Linked DNA regions of Homo sapiens: region 2 is linked to region 1. The links are contacts of gene promoters, found by promoter capture Hi-C in blood cells and fetal thymus (Javierre and others, 2016). All regions are on one chromosome and are shown on one strand. Each heading gives the region's core, a stretch centred on a gene start or on the middle of the fragment in contact. The rest is flanking DNA. Distances are from core to core; before and after follow the strand shown.

Region 1 (5,806 bases), core at 1,963-4,462:
CCTCATCTTCAAAATGGGGCCCCTTAGCAAGCATGGTGGCACTTGCCTGTGGTCCTAGAGGCAGGAGGATCACTTCATCCTGGGAGGGAGATTGAGGCTGCAGGAGTCGCGATCATGCCACTGCACTCCAGCCTGGGCAACACAGTGAGACCCTGTTTCAAAAAAATTTAAAAAGCGGAGGCTGCACGGGGTGGCTTATGCCTGTAATCCCAGCACTTTGGGATGCCAAGGCAGGCAGATCACATGAGCCCAGGAGTTCGAGACCAGCCTGGGCACCCTGGCAAGACCTTGTCTCCAAGAAATTTAAAAATTAGGTGGATGTGATGGCGTGTGCCTGTAGTCTCAGCTGCTTTGGAGGTTGAGGTGGGAGGGTTGCTTGAGCCTAGGAGGTGGAGGCTGCAGTGAGCCATGATCTTGCCACTGCACTCCAACCTGTGTGACAGAGCAAGACCCTGTCTCAGAAGAAAAGCCACAGGCCGGGTACAGTGGCTTATGTCTATAATCCTAGCACTTTGGGAGGCTGAGGCGGGCGGATTGCCTGAGGTCAGGAGTTTGAGACCAGTCTGGCTAACATGGTGAAACCCTGTCTCTACTAAAAATACAAAAATATTAGCTGGGTATGGTGGCACATACCTGTAGTCCCAGCTACTCGGGAGGCTGAGGCAGGAGAATCGCTTGAACCTGGGAGGCGGAGGTTGCGGTGAGATGAGATTGCGCCGCTGCACTCCAGCCTGGGTGACAGAGCGAGACTCTGTCTCAAAAAAAAACACAAAAAAATGGGGTGCCCAGGCTGGGCGCGGTGGTTCATACCTGTAATCCCAGCACTTTGGGAGGCCAAGGTGGGCAGATCACGAGGTCAGGAGCTTGAGACCAGCCTGGCTGGTCTCAAAAAAAAAATGGGGTACCTGCTGTGTGGTATGCATCTGTGTTACAGCTAAGTTGGTCAGCCTGGCCAGGATGGGGGCTAGCCCATGGGCTGAGATCTGGGCACCTTCCCGCCCCGCCTGCCTCATGCCCCTGCGACCAGGTGCACTGTCTCCCCACAAGGGGACCGGGCAGGCACAGAGGCGGAGGATATGCTGTGGCTGGTCCACCTGTCTCAGGGGGAAGCATGTCCTTCACTGGTGACACCTAGGCCGGAGGAGGAGAGGGCAGGGCCACGGACTTGCTCTGGGCTCTAAGACTGAGGCCCTGGGCTCAGCTTAGGCTGCAGAGCTCACGGGGCTGGGGCCAGGCTGTGAGGTACACAGGGCCAGGCTCCTTCCTGTCCTTGGTCACAGGGCCACCCCCTTAACCCTCGGGACTACTGTGGCTGGACACCTCTGCACGAGGCCTGCAACTACGGGCATCTAGGTGAGCAAGGGACAGAAGGAGCCTGGCGCACCTTGGTGGACACGTGGGGCGAAGAGTCAGTCCTGGCGGGGCATCGGGAGCTGGGCTTACGTCTCCTGGTCTGCAGAAATTGTCCGCTTCCTGCTGGACCACGGGGCCGCAGTGGACGACCCAGGTGGCCAGGGCTGCGAAGGCATCACCCCCCTCCACGATGCCCTCAACTGTGGCCACTTCGAGGTGGCTGAGCTGCTGCTTGAACGGGGGGCGTCCGTCACCCTCCGCACTCGAAAGGTGAGCCTGGTGGGGCAGAGGGCAAGGGCGAGGTTATGGGGGCTGCTGTGCCCCTGCTCAACTGATGCCACACAGGGCCTCAGCCCGCTGGAGACGCTGCAGCAGTGGGTGAAGCTGTACCGCAGGGACCTGGACCTGGAGACGCGGCAGAAGGCCAGGGCCATGGAGATGCTGCTCCAGGCGGCTGCCTCGGGCCAAGGCAAGCAGGGCGTCCCTTGTCCCTGGGGTTGCTGTGCCTACGCTGAGAGTCCCCGGGCCCTGATTTCGGGAGATGCTCCATCACAGGTGGAGCGGGAGGTGCCGGGCCCCTGCCTCAACACGCATTCTCTCTCCCACAGATCCCCACAGCTCCCAGGCCTTCCACACCCCAAGCAGCCTTCTGTTTGACCCCGAGACCTCTCCTCCTTTGAGCCCCTGCCCAGAACCCCCCTCTAATAGCACTAGACTCCCAGAGGCCTCTCAGGCCCATGTCAGGGTCTCCCCAGGGCAGGCGGCACCAGCCATGGCCAGGCCTCGGAGGAGCAGGCATGGGCCAGCCAGCAGCAGCAGCAGCTCAGAAGGCGAGGACAGCGCAGGCCCCGCACGGCCGTCCCAGAAGAGGCCTCGGTGCTCGGCCACAGCACAACGGGTGGCAGCCTGGACGCCTGGCCCCGCCAGCAACAGGGAAGCAGCCACAGCCAGCACCAGCCGGGCAGCCTACCAGGCAGCCATCCGGGGTGTGGGCAGTGCTCAGAGCCGGCTGGGGCCTGGCCCACCGCGGGGCCACAGCAAAGCCCTTGCCCCCCAGGCAGCGCTCATCCCGGAGGAGGAGTGCCTGGCCGGGGACTGGCTGGAGCTGGACATGCCCCTGACCCGCAGCCGCCGGCCCCGCCCCCGGGGCACTGGAGACAACCGCAGGCCCAGTAGTACCTCTGGGTCGGACAGTGAGGAGAGCAGGCCCCGTGCCCGAGCCAAGCAGGTCCGCCTGACCTGCATGCAGAGTTGCAGTGCGCCAGTTAACGCAGGGCCCAGCAGCCTGGCTTCAGAACCTCCAGGGAGCCCCAGCACCCCCAGGGTCTCAGAGCCCAGTGGGGACAGCTCTGCGGCAGGCCAGCCCTTGGTGGGTATGCAGACCTGGAGCAGAGCCCTCTCCCCACTCCGGGCAGGCAGGTGTAGGGTGGAGCCCACTGTGGCTCCTGACTCAGCCCTGCTGCCTTCACCTGCCAGGGTCCGGCCCCGCCCCCTCCCATCCGGGTTCGAGTTCAAGTTCAGGATCATCTCTTCCTCATCCCTGTCCCACACAGGTGAGGCATCGCCTGCCCTACCCCGCAGCCCACCTGTGCAGCTCCATGCCAGGGTGCTCGTGTTTGCATGTCAGGGTGGGGCGTGTGACGAGGGCTCCCTGGTGTGTTCCAGGAGGATCCTGTGGCCCCCAGGAATAGCAGAGGGGCTGGTGGTGTGCTGGGCTGCAGGGAGAGGAGGGGCCGGCTACCTGGGAATGGGAGAAGCAGCTGAGGGGGCTTCTGGCCCTGGGCAGGGATGGCGGGTCCCTGGGGCATTACCCCGGCTGTGTGCAGGCAGCAGCAGCAGCGCCTCTGTCCCTGCAGCAGTGACACCCACTCTGTGGCCTGGCTGGCCGAGCAGGCGGCCCAGCGCTACTACCAGACCTGCGGGCTGCTGCCCAGGCTCACCCTACGGAAAGAGGGGGCCCTGCTGGCCCCACAGGACCTCATCCCTGATGTGCTGCAGAGCAATGACGAGGTGAGCCGCAGAGCGGAGGGGGAGCCAGGGCCTCAGGCACCGGGAGCCCCCGGGTGGCTCATGGCTGCAGAGCAATGATGAGGTGAGCCGGGGGAGCCCCCAGGTGGCTCATGACGGTGCCTTCCAGGTGTTGGCTGAGGTGACTTCGTGGGACCTGCCCCCGTTGACTGACCGCTACCGCAGGGCCTGCCAGAGCCTGGGGCAAGGTGAGGGCCAGGAGAGCTGCAGTTTCTGGGTGAGGTCGTACAAGGGGGTTGGGCACACAGGCTCCACCAGCCCGGTTCATTCCTGGGCCTCGGGTGTTTTGGGGTGCACCTCCCCCAGCCTGGTGGGTGCTGTGTCCTGCACTTGGATGTGTGGGTGGAAGGGAGAGGACAGCCCTCAGCCCCCATGATCTGCTGACAGGGAGATGGCAAAAAGCAGCCGAAAGCCTGGAAAGTCAAACCCAAGGAGGAGGGCCTGGCATGGGCTGGGAGCTGCTGGGGAAGCTTCCCAGAAAGCTTGTCCCGGGGGGTGTGGAATCTGGCAGTGACTGGTGGAGCTCAGGGTGCTGCAGACCCACCCCGGCCCCCAGGGCCTCACAGTGCTAGACCCACAGGCATGTGCGAGTGGGCTCTACAGCAAGTCTGGTGGGTGACCCCTGGGGCTGTTGAAAAGGGGCTGCCTGGTTTGCCCTCTGGGATTCAGAGGGCAGAAAGGGCCGGCCTTACCCTGGTGACATCACATCCCTCCCGCAGGGGAGCACCAACAGGTGCTGCAGGCCGTGGAGCTCCAGGGCTTGGGCCTCTCGTTCAGCGCCTGCTCCCTGGCCCTGGACCAGGCCCAGCTTACACCCCTGCTGCGGGCCCTCAAGCTGCACACAGCACTCCGGGAGCTGCGCCTGGCAGGGAACCGGCTGGGGGACAAGTGTGTGGCTGAGCTGGTGGCTGCCCTGGGCACCATGCCCAGCCTGGCCCTCCTTGACCTCTCCTCCAATCACCTGGGTCCCGAAGGCCTGCGCCAGCTTGCCATGGGGCTCCCAGGCCAAGCCACCTTGCAGGTATAGGCACAGAGAGCAGCAGGCCCTCAACAGCGGGGAGTTGGGGTTCCCATTCTGCAGGTCCCTGGGTGGTCTAGGGTAGTTGGGAGAGCCAGCCAGTGCCCGGCTGTAATAGGCTATGCCAGGCAAGGTGGGGAAGAGACTGCCAAGCCAAGCCCCAAGGGGGACCCTGTCCGTGGGACTGCTGGGGGCTCACTGCCAGCCTGTGTCTTCCACAGAGTTTGGAGGAGCTGGACTTAAGCATGAACCCCCTGGGGGACGGCTGTGGCCAGTCCCTGGCCTCCCTCCTGCACGCCTGCCCCTTACTCAGCACCCTGCGCCTGCAGGCGTGTGGCTTCGGCCCCAGCTTCTTTCTGAGCCACCAGACAGCACTGGGTAGTGCTTTCCAAGGTGAGCTGACCAGGCACTCCCTGTCCACTCCCTAGCCCTGGGGCATTGAGGGTTTCCAGGACTTTCAGAGGGGGCCCAGGCTGGGCACACAGGGGCAACACCTGTGGTCCCAGCTACTTGAGAGGCTGAGGCGGGAGTATCGCTTGAGCCAAGAGTTCCAGGAAAGCCTGGCCCACATAGTGAGACCCCATCCCTTAAGAAAAAAGCGTCTAGGCCGGGCGCAGTGGCTCACGCCTGTAATCCCAGCACTTTGGGAGGCCAAGGCGGGCAGATCACGAGGTCAGGATATCGAGACCATCCTGGCTAACACGGTGAAACGCCGTCTCTATTAAAAATACAATTAGCTGGGCGTGGTGGCCGGTGCCTGTAGTCCCAGCTACGCAGGAGGCTGAGGCAGGAGAATGGCATGAACCCGGGAAGCGGAGCTTGCAGTGAGCCGAGATCGCGCCGTTGCACTCCAGCCTGGGCGACAGAGCAAGACTCCGTGTCAAAAAAACGAAACAAACAACGTCTAGGGGCCTGGGATGCCAGACCTGGCTCTCCGGGAGGGCCTGGCACCTGGGAGCAATAGATGGATGTGTGGGTACAGGGTCTGCCTCCGAGGGGCGTCTGGTGCCCACCCAGCCAGGCTGACCCCCGCAGGACACACCGAGAGCAGAGTCCGGGCAGCTAGTGTCCTGTGGTCCCCATCCCGTGCTCGCCAGCTGAGTGCTGTTCGCCTGAGGCAGTTCCACTGTGAGCCCACTCAGGCTGCAGAGACTGGGGTCCCAGTGCCAAGAGGCTGGGAATTGGGTGTCATCCAGGGGGAGTGTAAGGGGGGCAGCAATGGTCAGTGCACTCCCCTGGCACCCCCACTGTGCAGAGGCATGTGGCCCAGGACCGTGTGGTTGTGGGGTGGGAGAGGGCAAGTTGTCCAGAACTGGGGGCAGCCGAGCTTGGAAGTCTGGCCCCGCCCTCCCAGCTGGGAGAATCTGGGCGAGAGCCTTTGCCTCTGCACTTGCCACCCCACCCTGC
Region 2 (5,806 bases), core at 988-3,487, 270 kb after region 1:
AGGAGTGGATGCACCTCCACCTACAGCATCCTCCTCCACACTGTGAGGAACTGAGCACGGGCACCACAGCTTTCACACATCACATGCCATGCGCCACTGCATGCAACAATGGTCCCTAAGAATCGAGTCCAGGAAGCGTCCAAGTTCCCTCTGCCTCTTCACCACGGACACACATTCAAGTCTTGTGTCACGCTTTCTGAGGACCTACGTCATCAGAGGGGCTGCAGGCCCACCATAAGCATGGCAGCCAGCATCCTAACACTCACATTCTCTGTTCTCTGAGTCTCCCACCAGCCCCTTAATTCCCTTGATCACCTCCCATCCACCATTCCTTGCTAACATACTCCAGAGAAAAATGAAGGAGAGACACCATGACCCATCCCTGACCAGCCAGGACACCTCCCTGCGCTGTGCACACATGGGTTGGAGGCGAAGTAAGAAATCATAGAAATCTTGGCCAAGAGCGATGGCTCATGCCTGTAATCCAGCACTTTGGGAGGCCAAGGTGGGTGGATTGTTTGAGGTCAGGAGTTCGAGACCAGCCTGGCCAATATGATGAAACTCTGTCTCTACTAAAAACACAAAAATTAGCCGGTCGTGGTGGCAGGCACCTTTAGTCCTAGCTACTCAGGGAGCTGAGGCATGAGAATCACTTGAACCTGGGAAGCGGAGGTTGTAGTGAGCCAAGGACACACCACTGCACTGCAGCCTGAGCGACAGAGTGAGACTCTGTCTCAGAGAAAAAAAAAAACAAAAGAAAGAAAGAAAAAAGACATCATGGGCCGGGTGCAGTGGCTCATGCCTGTAATTCCAGCACTTTGGGAGGCTGAGGCAGGTGGACCACTTGAGGCCAGGAGTTTGAGACCAGCCTGGCCAACATGGTGACACACCATCTCTACTAAAAATACAAAAAAATTAGCCAGTCTGGTGGCTCATGCCTGTAATCCCAGCTACTCAGGAGGCTGAGGTGGGAGAATTGCTTGAACCTGGTAGGCGGAGGTTACAGTGAACCGAGATTGCACCACTGCACTACACTCCAGCCTGGGCAACAGAGCGAGCCCTGTCTCAAAAAAAAAGAAAAGAAAAACAGGGCCGGGCGCAGTGGCTCATATCTGTAATCCCAGCACTTTGGGATGCTGAGGCGGGCGGATCATCTGAGGTCAGGATTTCAAGACCAGCCTGGCTAACATGGTAAAATCCAGTCTGTACTAAAAAAATACAGAAATTAGCTGGGTGTGGTGGCGCGTGCCTGTAATCCCAGCTACTCAGGAGGCTGAGGCAGAAGAATCACTTGCACCCGGGAGGTGGAGGTCGCAGTGAGCTGAGATCGTGCCACTGCACTCCAGCCTGGGCGACAGAGTGAGACTCTGTCTTAAAAAAAAAAAAAAAAAAGAAAAGAAAAACAAAAAAACATATTCCATAAAGATCCCAAGCTGTGGAAGAGTTAAGAGCTGAAGAGGGCAGTGGCTCCCAGGCAGGGCAGAAAACCTGTGAAAGCGCCCACAGCACATACTTCCCAGAGACAAGGGCACGCCTGACGTGGAGCATCACAAGCCAGAGTTCCCAGGCCTGAGCTGAGCTGGGAGGCGGAGAAGCTGGGCTGAGTGGCCGGGCTCTGGGACCAGAGGCTGTGCCCTGCGGGTAGCCAGCACTGCCCAGCTCCGTCGTCCAGGAAGAAACGGGCGGAACCAACGCCAGTCCACGACCGTGCAGCACCCCTTCCAGTGCAGCAGCCACGCTCACCCAACTCAAACAGGAGCTAACAAAACAAATGGGCACATGGACTTGGACTTGCCTGCTCCCGGCCCAGGCGAGAATCACAGGACAACTAAAAAACTGGACGAGACACAAGAAACCACTGTTTCTCAGGACAATGGACATCAGAAAATGAAGGACTGTGCGGCCTGAGAGGTAGGAAATGAGGCGGAGCCCTAAGAGCCCAGCTCACTGCCTGGAGAGAGGACCCAGTCCTAGGGCCCAGCAAAACACCTAAGCTGATGAGACAGAACGGGGAGTGCCGGCCGATACCAAGGCGGCCGGAGTCTGCAGTCTCTCATACCAGAGAAAGCGCTGCCCAGAGAGAACTTTAGAGACCTGCAGCGGGTTCCCTGGGCACTCAGCAAGTTACTGGTCAGCAGAATAATAGCCCCAAAGCTTCCCACACCCTAATCCCCAGAACCTGTGTGTATGAACCCTTACACAGCAAAGGGGATTCAGTAGATGAGATTAAGGGTACAGGCCCTGAGACAGGGAGATTATCCTGGATTACCTGGGTGAGACCAAACTAATCACATGAGTCCTTAAAAGCACAGAAGCTTTCCCAGGTGCGTCAAAGAGAAGAGACAGAAGAGCGGGGAGGAGAAATTTGAAGCGTGAGAAGGACTCACCCCACAACTGCTGGCTTGGAGGATGCAGGAGGGAGGCTCTGAGACAAGGAATGCAGGTGGCCTGGAGAAGCTGCGAATGGCCCTCAGCTGGCGGCTGACAAGAAAACAGGAGCTTCCGTCCTACAGATGCAAAGAACCAAATTCTGCCAGGAACCTGAGACAGCAGAAGCAATCCTTCCCAGGGGCACCAGGAAGGGAAGCAGCCCCCGGCGCCTGGGTTCTGGCTGGTGAGACTTGGTAGACTTCTGACTCCAAAAACTTTATGGTAATAAATTTGTCTGGTGCCTGGGTTCTAGCCGGTGGGACCCTTGTAGACTTCTGACTCCAAGAACTTTATGGTAATAAATTTGTCTGGTGCCTGGGTTCTAGCCAGTGGGACCCTTGGTAGACTTCTGACTCCAAGAACTTTATGGTAATAAATTTGTCTGGTGCCTGGGTTCTAGCCGGTGGGACCCTTGGTAGACTTCTGACTCCAAGAACTTTATGGTAATAAATTTGTCTGGTGCCTGGGTTCTAGCCGGTGGGACCCTTGGTAGACTTCTGACTCCAAAAACTTTATGGTAATAAATTTGTGTTGCTTAAGGCACTAAGTTTGTGATAATGCATTGCATCAGCATTAGAAAACTAAGACAAATGCCTTGTAGGAGAACAAACTGTCCAAAGCTGCAGAAAGAGCCACACAAAGGGATTAGGAGAAGCAACATCCAGGGCTTCCACAGGTCCAGGAATGGGGCCTGCTCCCAGCAGCCGGAGTGGAAAGTGTGGAAAGCGTCATGACTCATGGGGCACCAGGCAGAGCTCAGGATTCCACCTCAGTAAACAACCAAATCAGTCCTAGACTAAATGTCATTCTGGTCTCACCTAACAAAGCTAAAAGAAAGGTCTGACAAGATCAAACTGTTCCCTAGTAACTTAGCCAGCTCCCAGCACAAAGCTCATGAATACTAACAGAAACACAAAAATATCCAGCAACACCAAGCAAAAGCAACGCCTGGCATCCAATCAAAAATTACCAGGCGTGGGCCGGGCGCGGTGGCTCACGCCTGTAATCCCAGCACTTTGGGAGGCCGAGGCGGGTGGATCATGAGCTCAGGAGATCAAGACCATCCTGGCTAACACGGTGAAACCCTGTCTCTACTAAAAAATACAATAAATTAGACGGGGTGTGGTGGCGGGCCCCTGTAGTCCCAGCTACTCAGGAGGCTGAGGCAGGAGAATGGCGTGAACCCGGGAGGCGGAGCTTGCAGTGAGCCAAGATCGCACCACTGCACTCCAGCCTGGGCGACAAAGCGAGACTCCGTCTCAAAAAAAAAAAAAAAAAAAATTACCAGGCGTACAAAGAAGCAAGAAAATCCAACCCATTGTGAGGATGAACCAACCAATACAAACTGACCCAGAAATAACACAAAGGAAAGAGTTCAGAGACACAGACATTAGTTATTAAAACTATTTCATATGTTTGAGAAACTACAGGAAAGATTAAATATGTTAACACTACGAGGTTAAAAGCAAAAGGATGGGCAAAGAAAAACATGGCTGGCATTAGTTACAAGAAAGCTGGAGTCACATTAGACAAACTAGATTTCAGAAATATTAAGTATCCTAAACATTTTTACCTGGTAACAGAGCTTCAAAATACACAAAGCCAAAACTAATAAAAATGCAAGGAACAATAGACCAATCTAAATTGCAGTATAGATTTCAACATTTCTCTCTCTCTCCTTTCTTTTTGACACGGAGTTTCGCTTTTGTCGCCCAGGCTGGAGTACAATGGCAGGATCTCGGCTCACTACAACCTCCGCCTTCCGGGTTTAAGTGATTCTCCTGCCTCAGCCTCCCCAGGAGCTGGGACTACAGAAACGGGCCACCATACCTGGCTAATTTTTGTATTTTTAGTAGAGATGGGGTTTCACCACATTGGCCAGGCTGGTCTCGAACTCCTGACCTCAGGTGATCCACCCACCTCAGCCTCCCAAAGTGCTGGGATTACAGGCGTGAGCCACTGTGCCCGGCCCTCTGTCTCTGTTAGAACAAGTGAACAGAAAATTCGGCCAGGCAGAGTGGCTCATACCTGTAATCTTGGCACTTTGGGAGGCTACGAGGCAGTTTGAATGCTTGAGCTCAGGAGTTCAAAACCAGCCTGGGTAACACAGCGAAGCCCTGTCTCTACAAAAAATACAAAAACTAGCTGGGCGTGGTGGCGTGCGCCTGTAGTCCCAGCTACTCGGGAGGCAGGAGGATCACTTGAGCCCAGGAGGTCAATGCTGCAGTGAGCAGAGATCACACCACTGTGCTCCAGCCTCAGCGACAGGAGTGAGACCCTGTCGCTAAAAATTAAAAAAAAAAAAGTGTAAAAGAAGTCAATGCATACAAAGTATGTTCTCTGACCACAGTGGAATTAAATATATCAATAAGAGAAAGATATCTGAGAAATCCCCAGGAGTTTCAAAACTATTTAATATGCTTTGAAATAACGCATGGGTCTAAAAAGGAATCAAAAGTGAAATTACAAAACACACTGAAGTGAATGAAAATGAAAAGACATATCAAAATTTGTGGAAACTTATAGCACTAAATGTCTTTTTAGAAAAGAAGAATGATTAAAGTATACAGAGAATGTGCAGGAAAAAAATAATGAGTTCAACTTCTACCTTAAGAAACTAGAGGCCAGGTGAGGTGGCTCATGCCTGTAATCCTAGCACTTTGGGAGGCCAAGGTGGGTGGATCACTTGAGGTCAGTTCGAGACCAGCCTGACCAACACAGTGAAACCCCATCTCTACTAAAAATAGAAAAATTGGCCAGGCGTGGTGGCTCACATCTGTAATCCCAGCACTTTGGGAGGCTGAAGTACGTGGATCACCTGAGTTCAGGAGTTCGAGACCAGCCCGGCCAGTATGGTGAAACCCGAACCCTACTAAAAATACAAAAATTAGCTGGGCATGGTGGTATGCACCTGTAGTCCCAGCTACTTGGGAGGCTGAGACAGGAGAATTGCTTGAACCCAGGGGGCGGAGTTTGCAGTGAGCCAAGATAGCACCACTGCACTCCAACCTGGGCGACAGAGCCAGACTCCATCTCAAAAAAAAAAAAAAAAAAAAAGAAAGAAATAGATGGCCAGGCGCAGTGGCTCATGCCTGTAATCCCAGCACTTTGGGAGGCCAAGGCAGGTGGATCACTCAAGCTCAGGAGTTCAAGACCACCTGGGCAACATGGCAAAACCCCATCTCTACCAAAAGTACAAAAATCAGCTGGGCATGGTGGCACCCACCTGTAGTCCCAGCTACTCAGGAGGCTGAGGTGGAAGGACCACGTGAGCCTGGGAAACAGAGGTAGCAGTGAGCCAAGACTGCACCACTGCACTCCAGCCTGGGTGACAAAGCAACCCCTTCTCAAAAAAAAAAAAAAAAAAAAGAAAGAA

What was found. Contacts are between HindIII fragments. The CHiCAGO score rates a contact against its expected background, and 5 or more counts as called.
Region 2: a contact is called between a fragment that was not itself captured here and the fragment with the promoter of TONSL-AS1 in region 1, in 1 of 17 cell types (M1 macrophages). The highest score is 5.0, in M1 macrophages.

What each region holds. Positions count from the first base shown.
Region 1 is chr8:144,432,574-144,438,379 of GRCh38, reverse strand. It overlaps TONSL-AS1 (TONSL antisense RNA 1), which reads right to left and starts at 3,212. Exons shown (of 6, transcript NR_109770.1): 1 at 2,940-3,212; 2 at 1,385-1,629; 3 at 634-681; 4 at 47-152. It overlaps TONSL (tonsoku like, DNA repair protein), which reads left to right. Exons shown (of 26, transcript NM_013432.5): 14 at 1,281-1,353; 15 at 1,460-1,623; 16 at 1,699-1,822; 17 at 1,962-2,722; 18 at 2,830-2,906; 19 at 3,210-3,363; 20 at 3,491-3,569; 21 at 4,101-4,402; 22 at 4,621-4,792. MIR6893 (microRNA 6893) reads left to right here and starts at 2,761; the gene lies at 2,761-2,829. The HindIII fragment of the contact is 6,013 bases long and covers 1-3,853 here.
Region 2 is chr8:144,157,671-144,163,476 of GRCh38, reverse strand. It overlaps MROH1 (maestro heat like repeat family member 1), which reads right to left. Exons shown (of 44, transcript NM_032450.3): 2 at 2,388-2,507. Among named protein-coding and RNA genes, the nearest start is that of MROH1, 13 kb to the right of the region's middle. The HindIII fragment of the contact is 161 bases long and covers 2,157-2,317 here.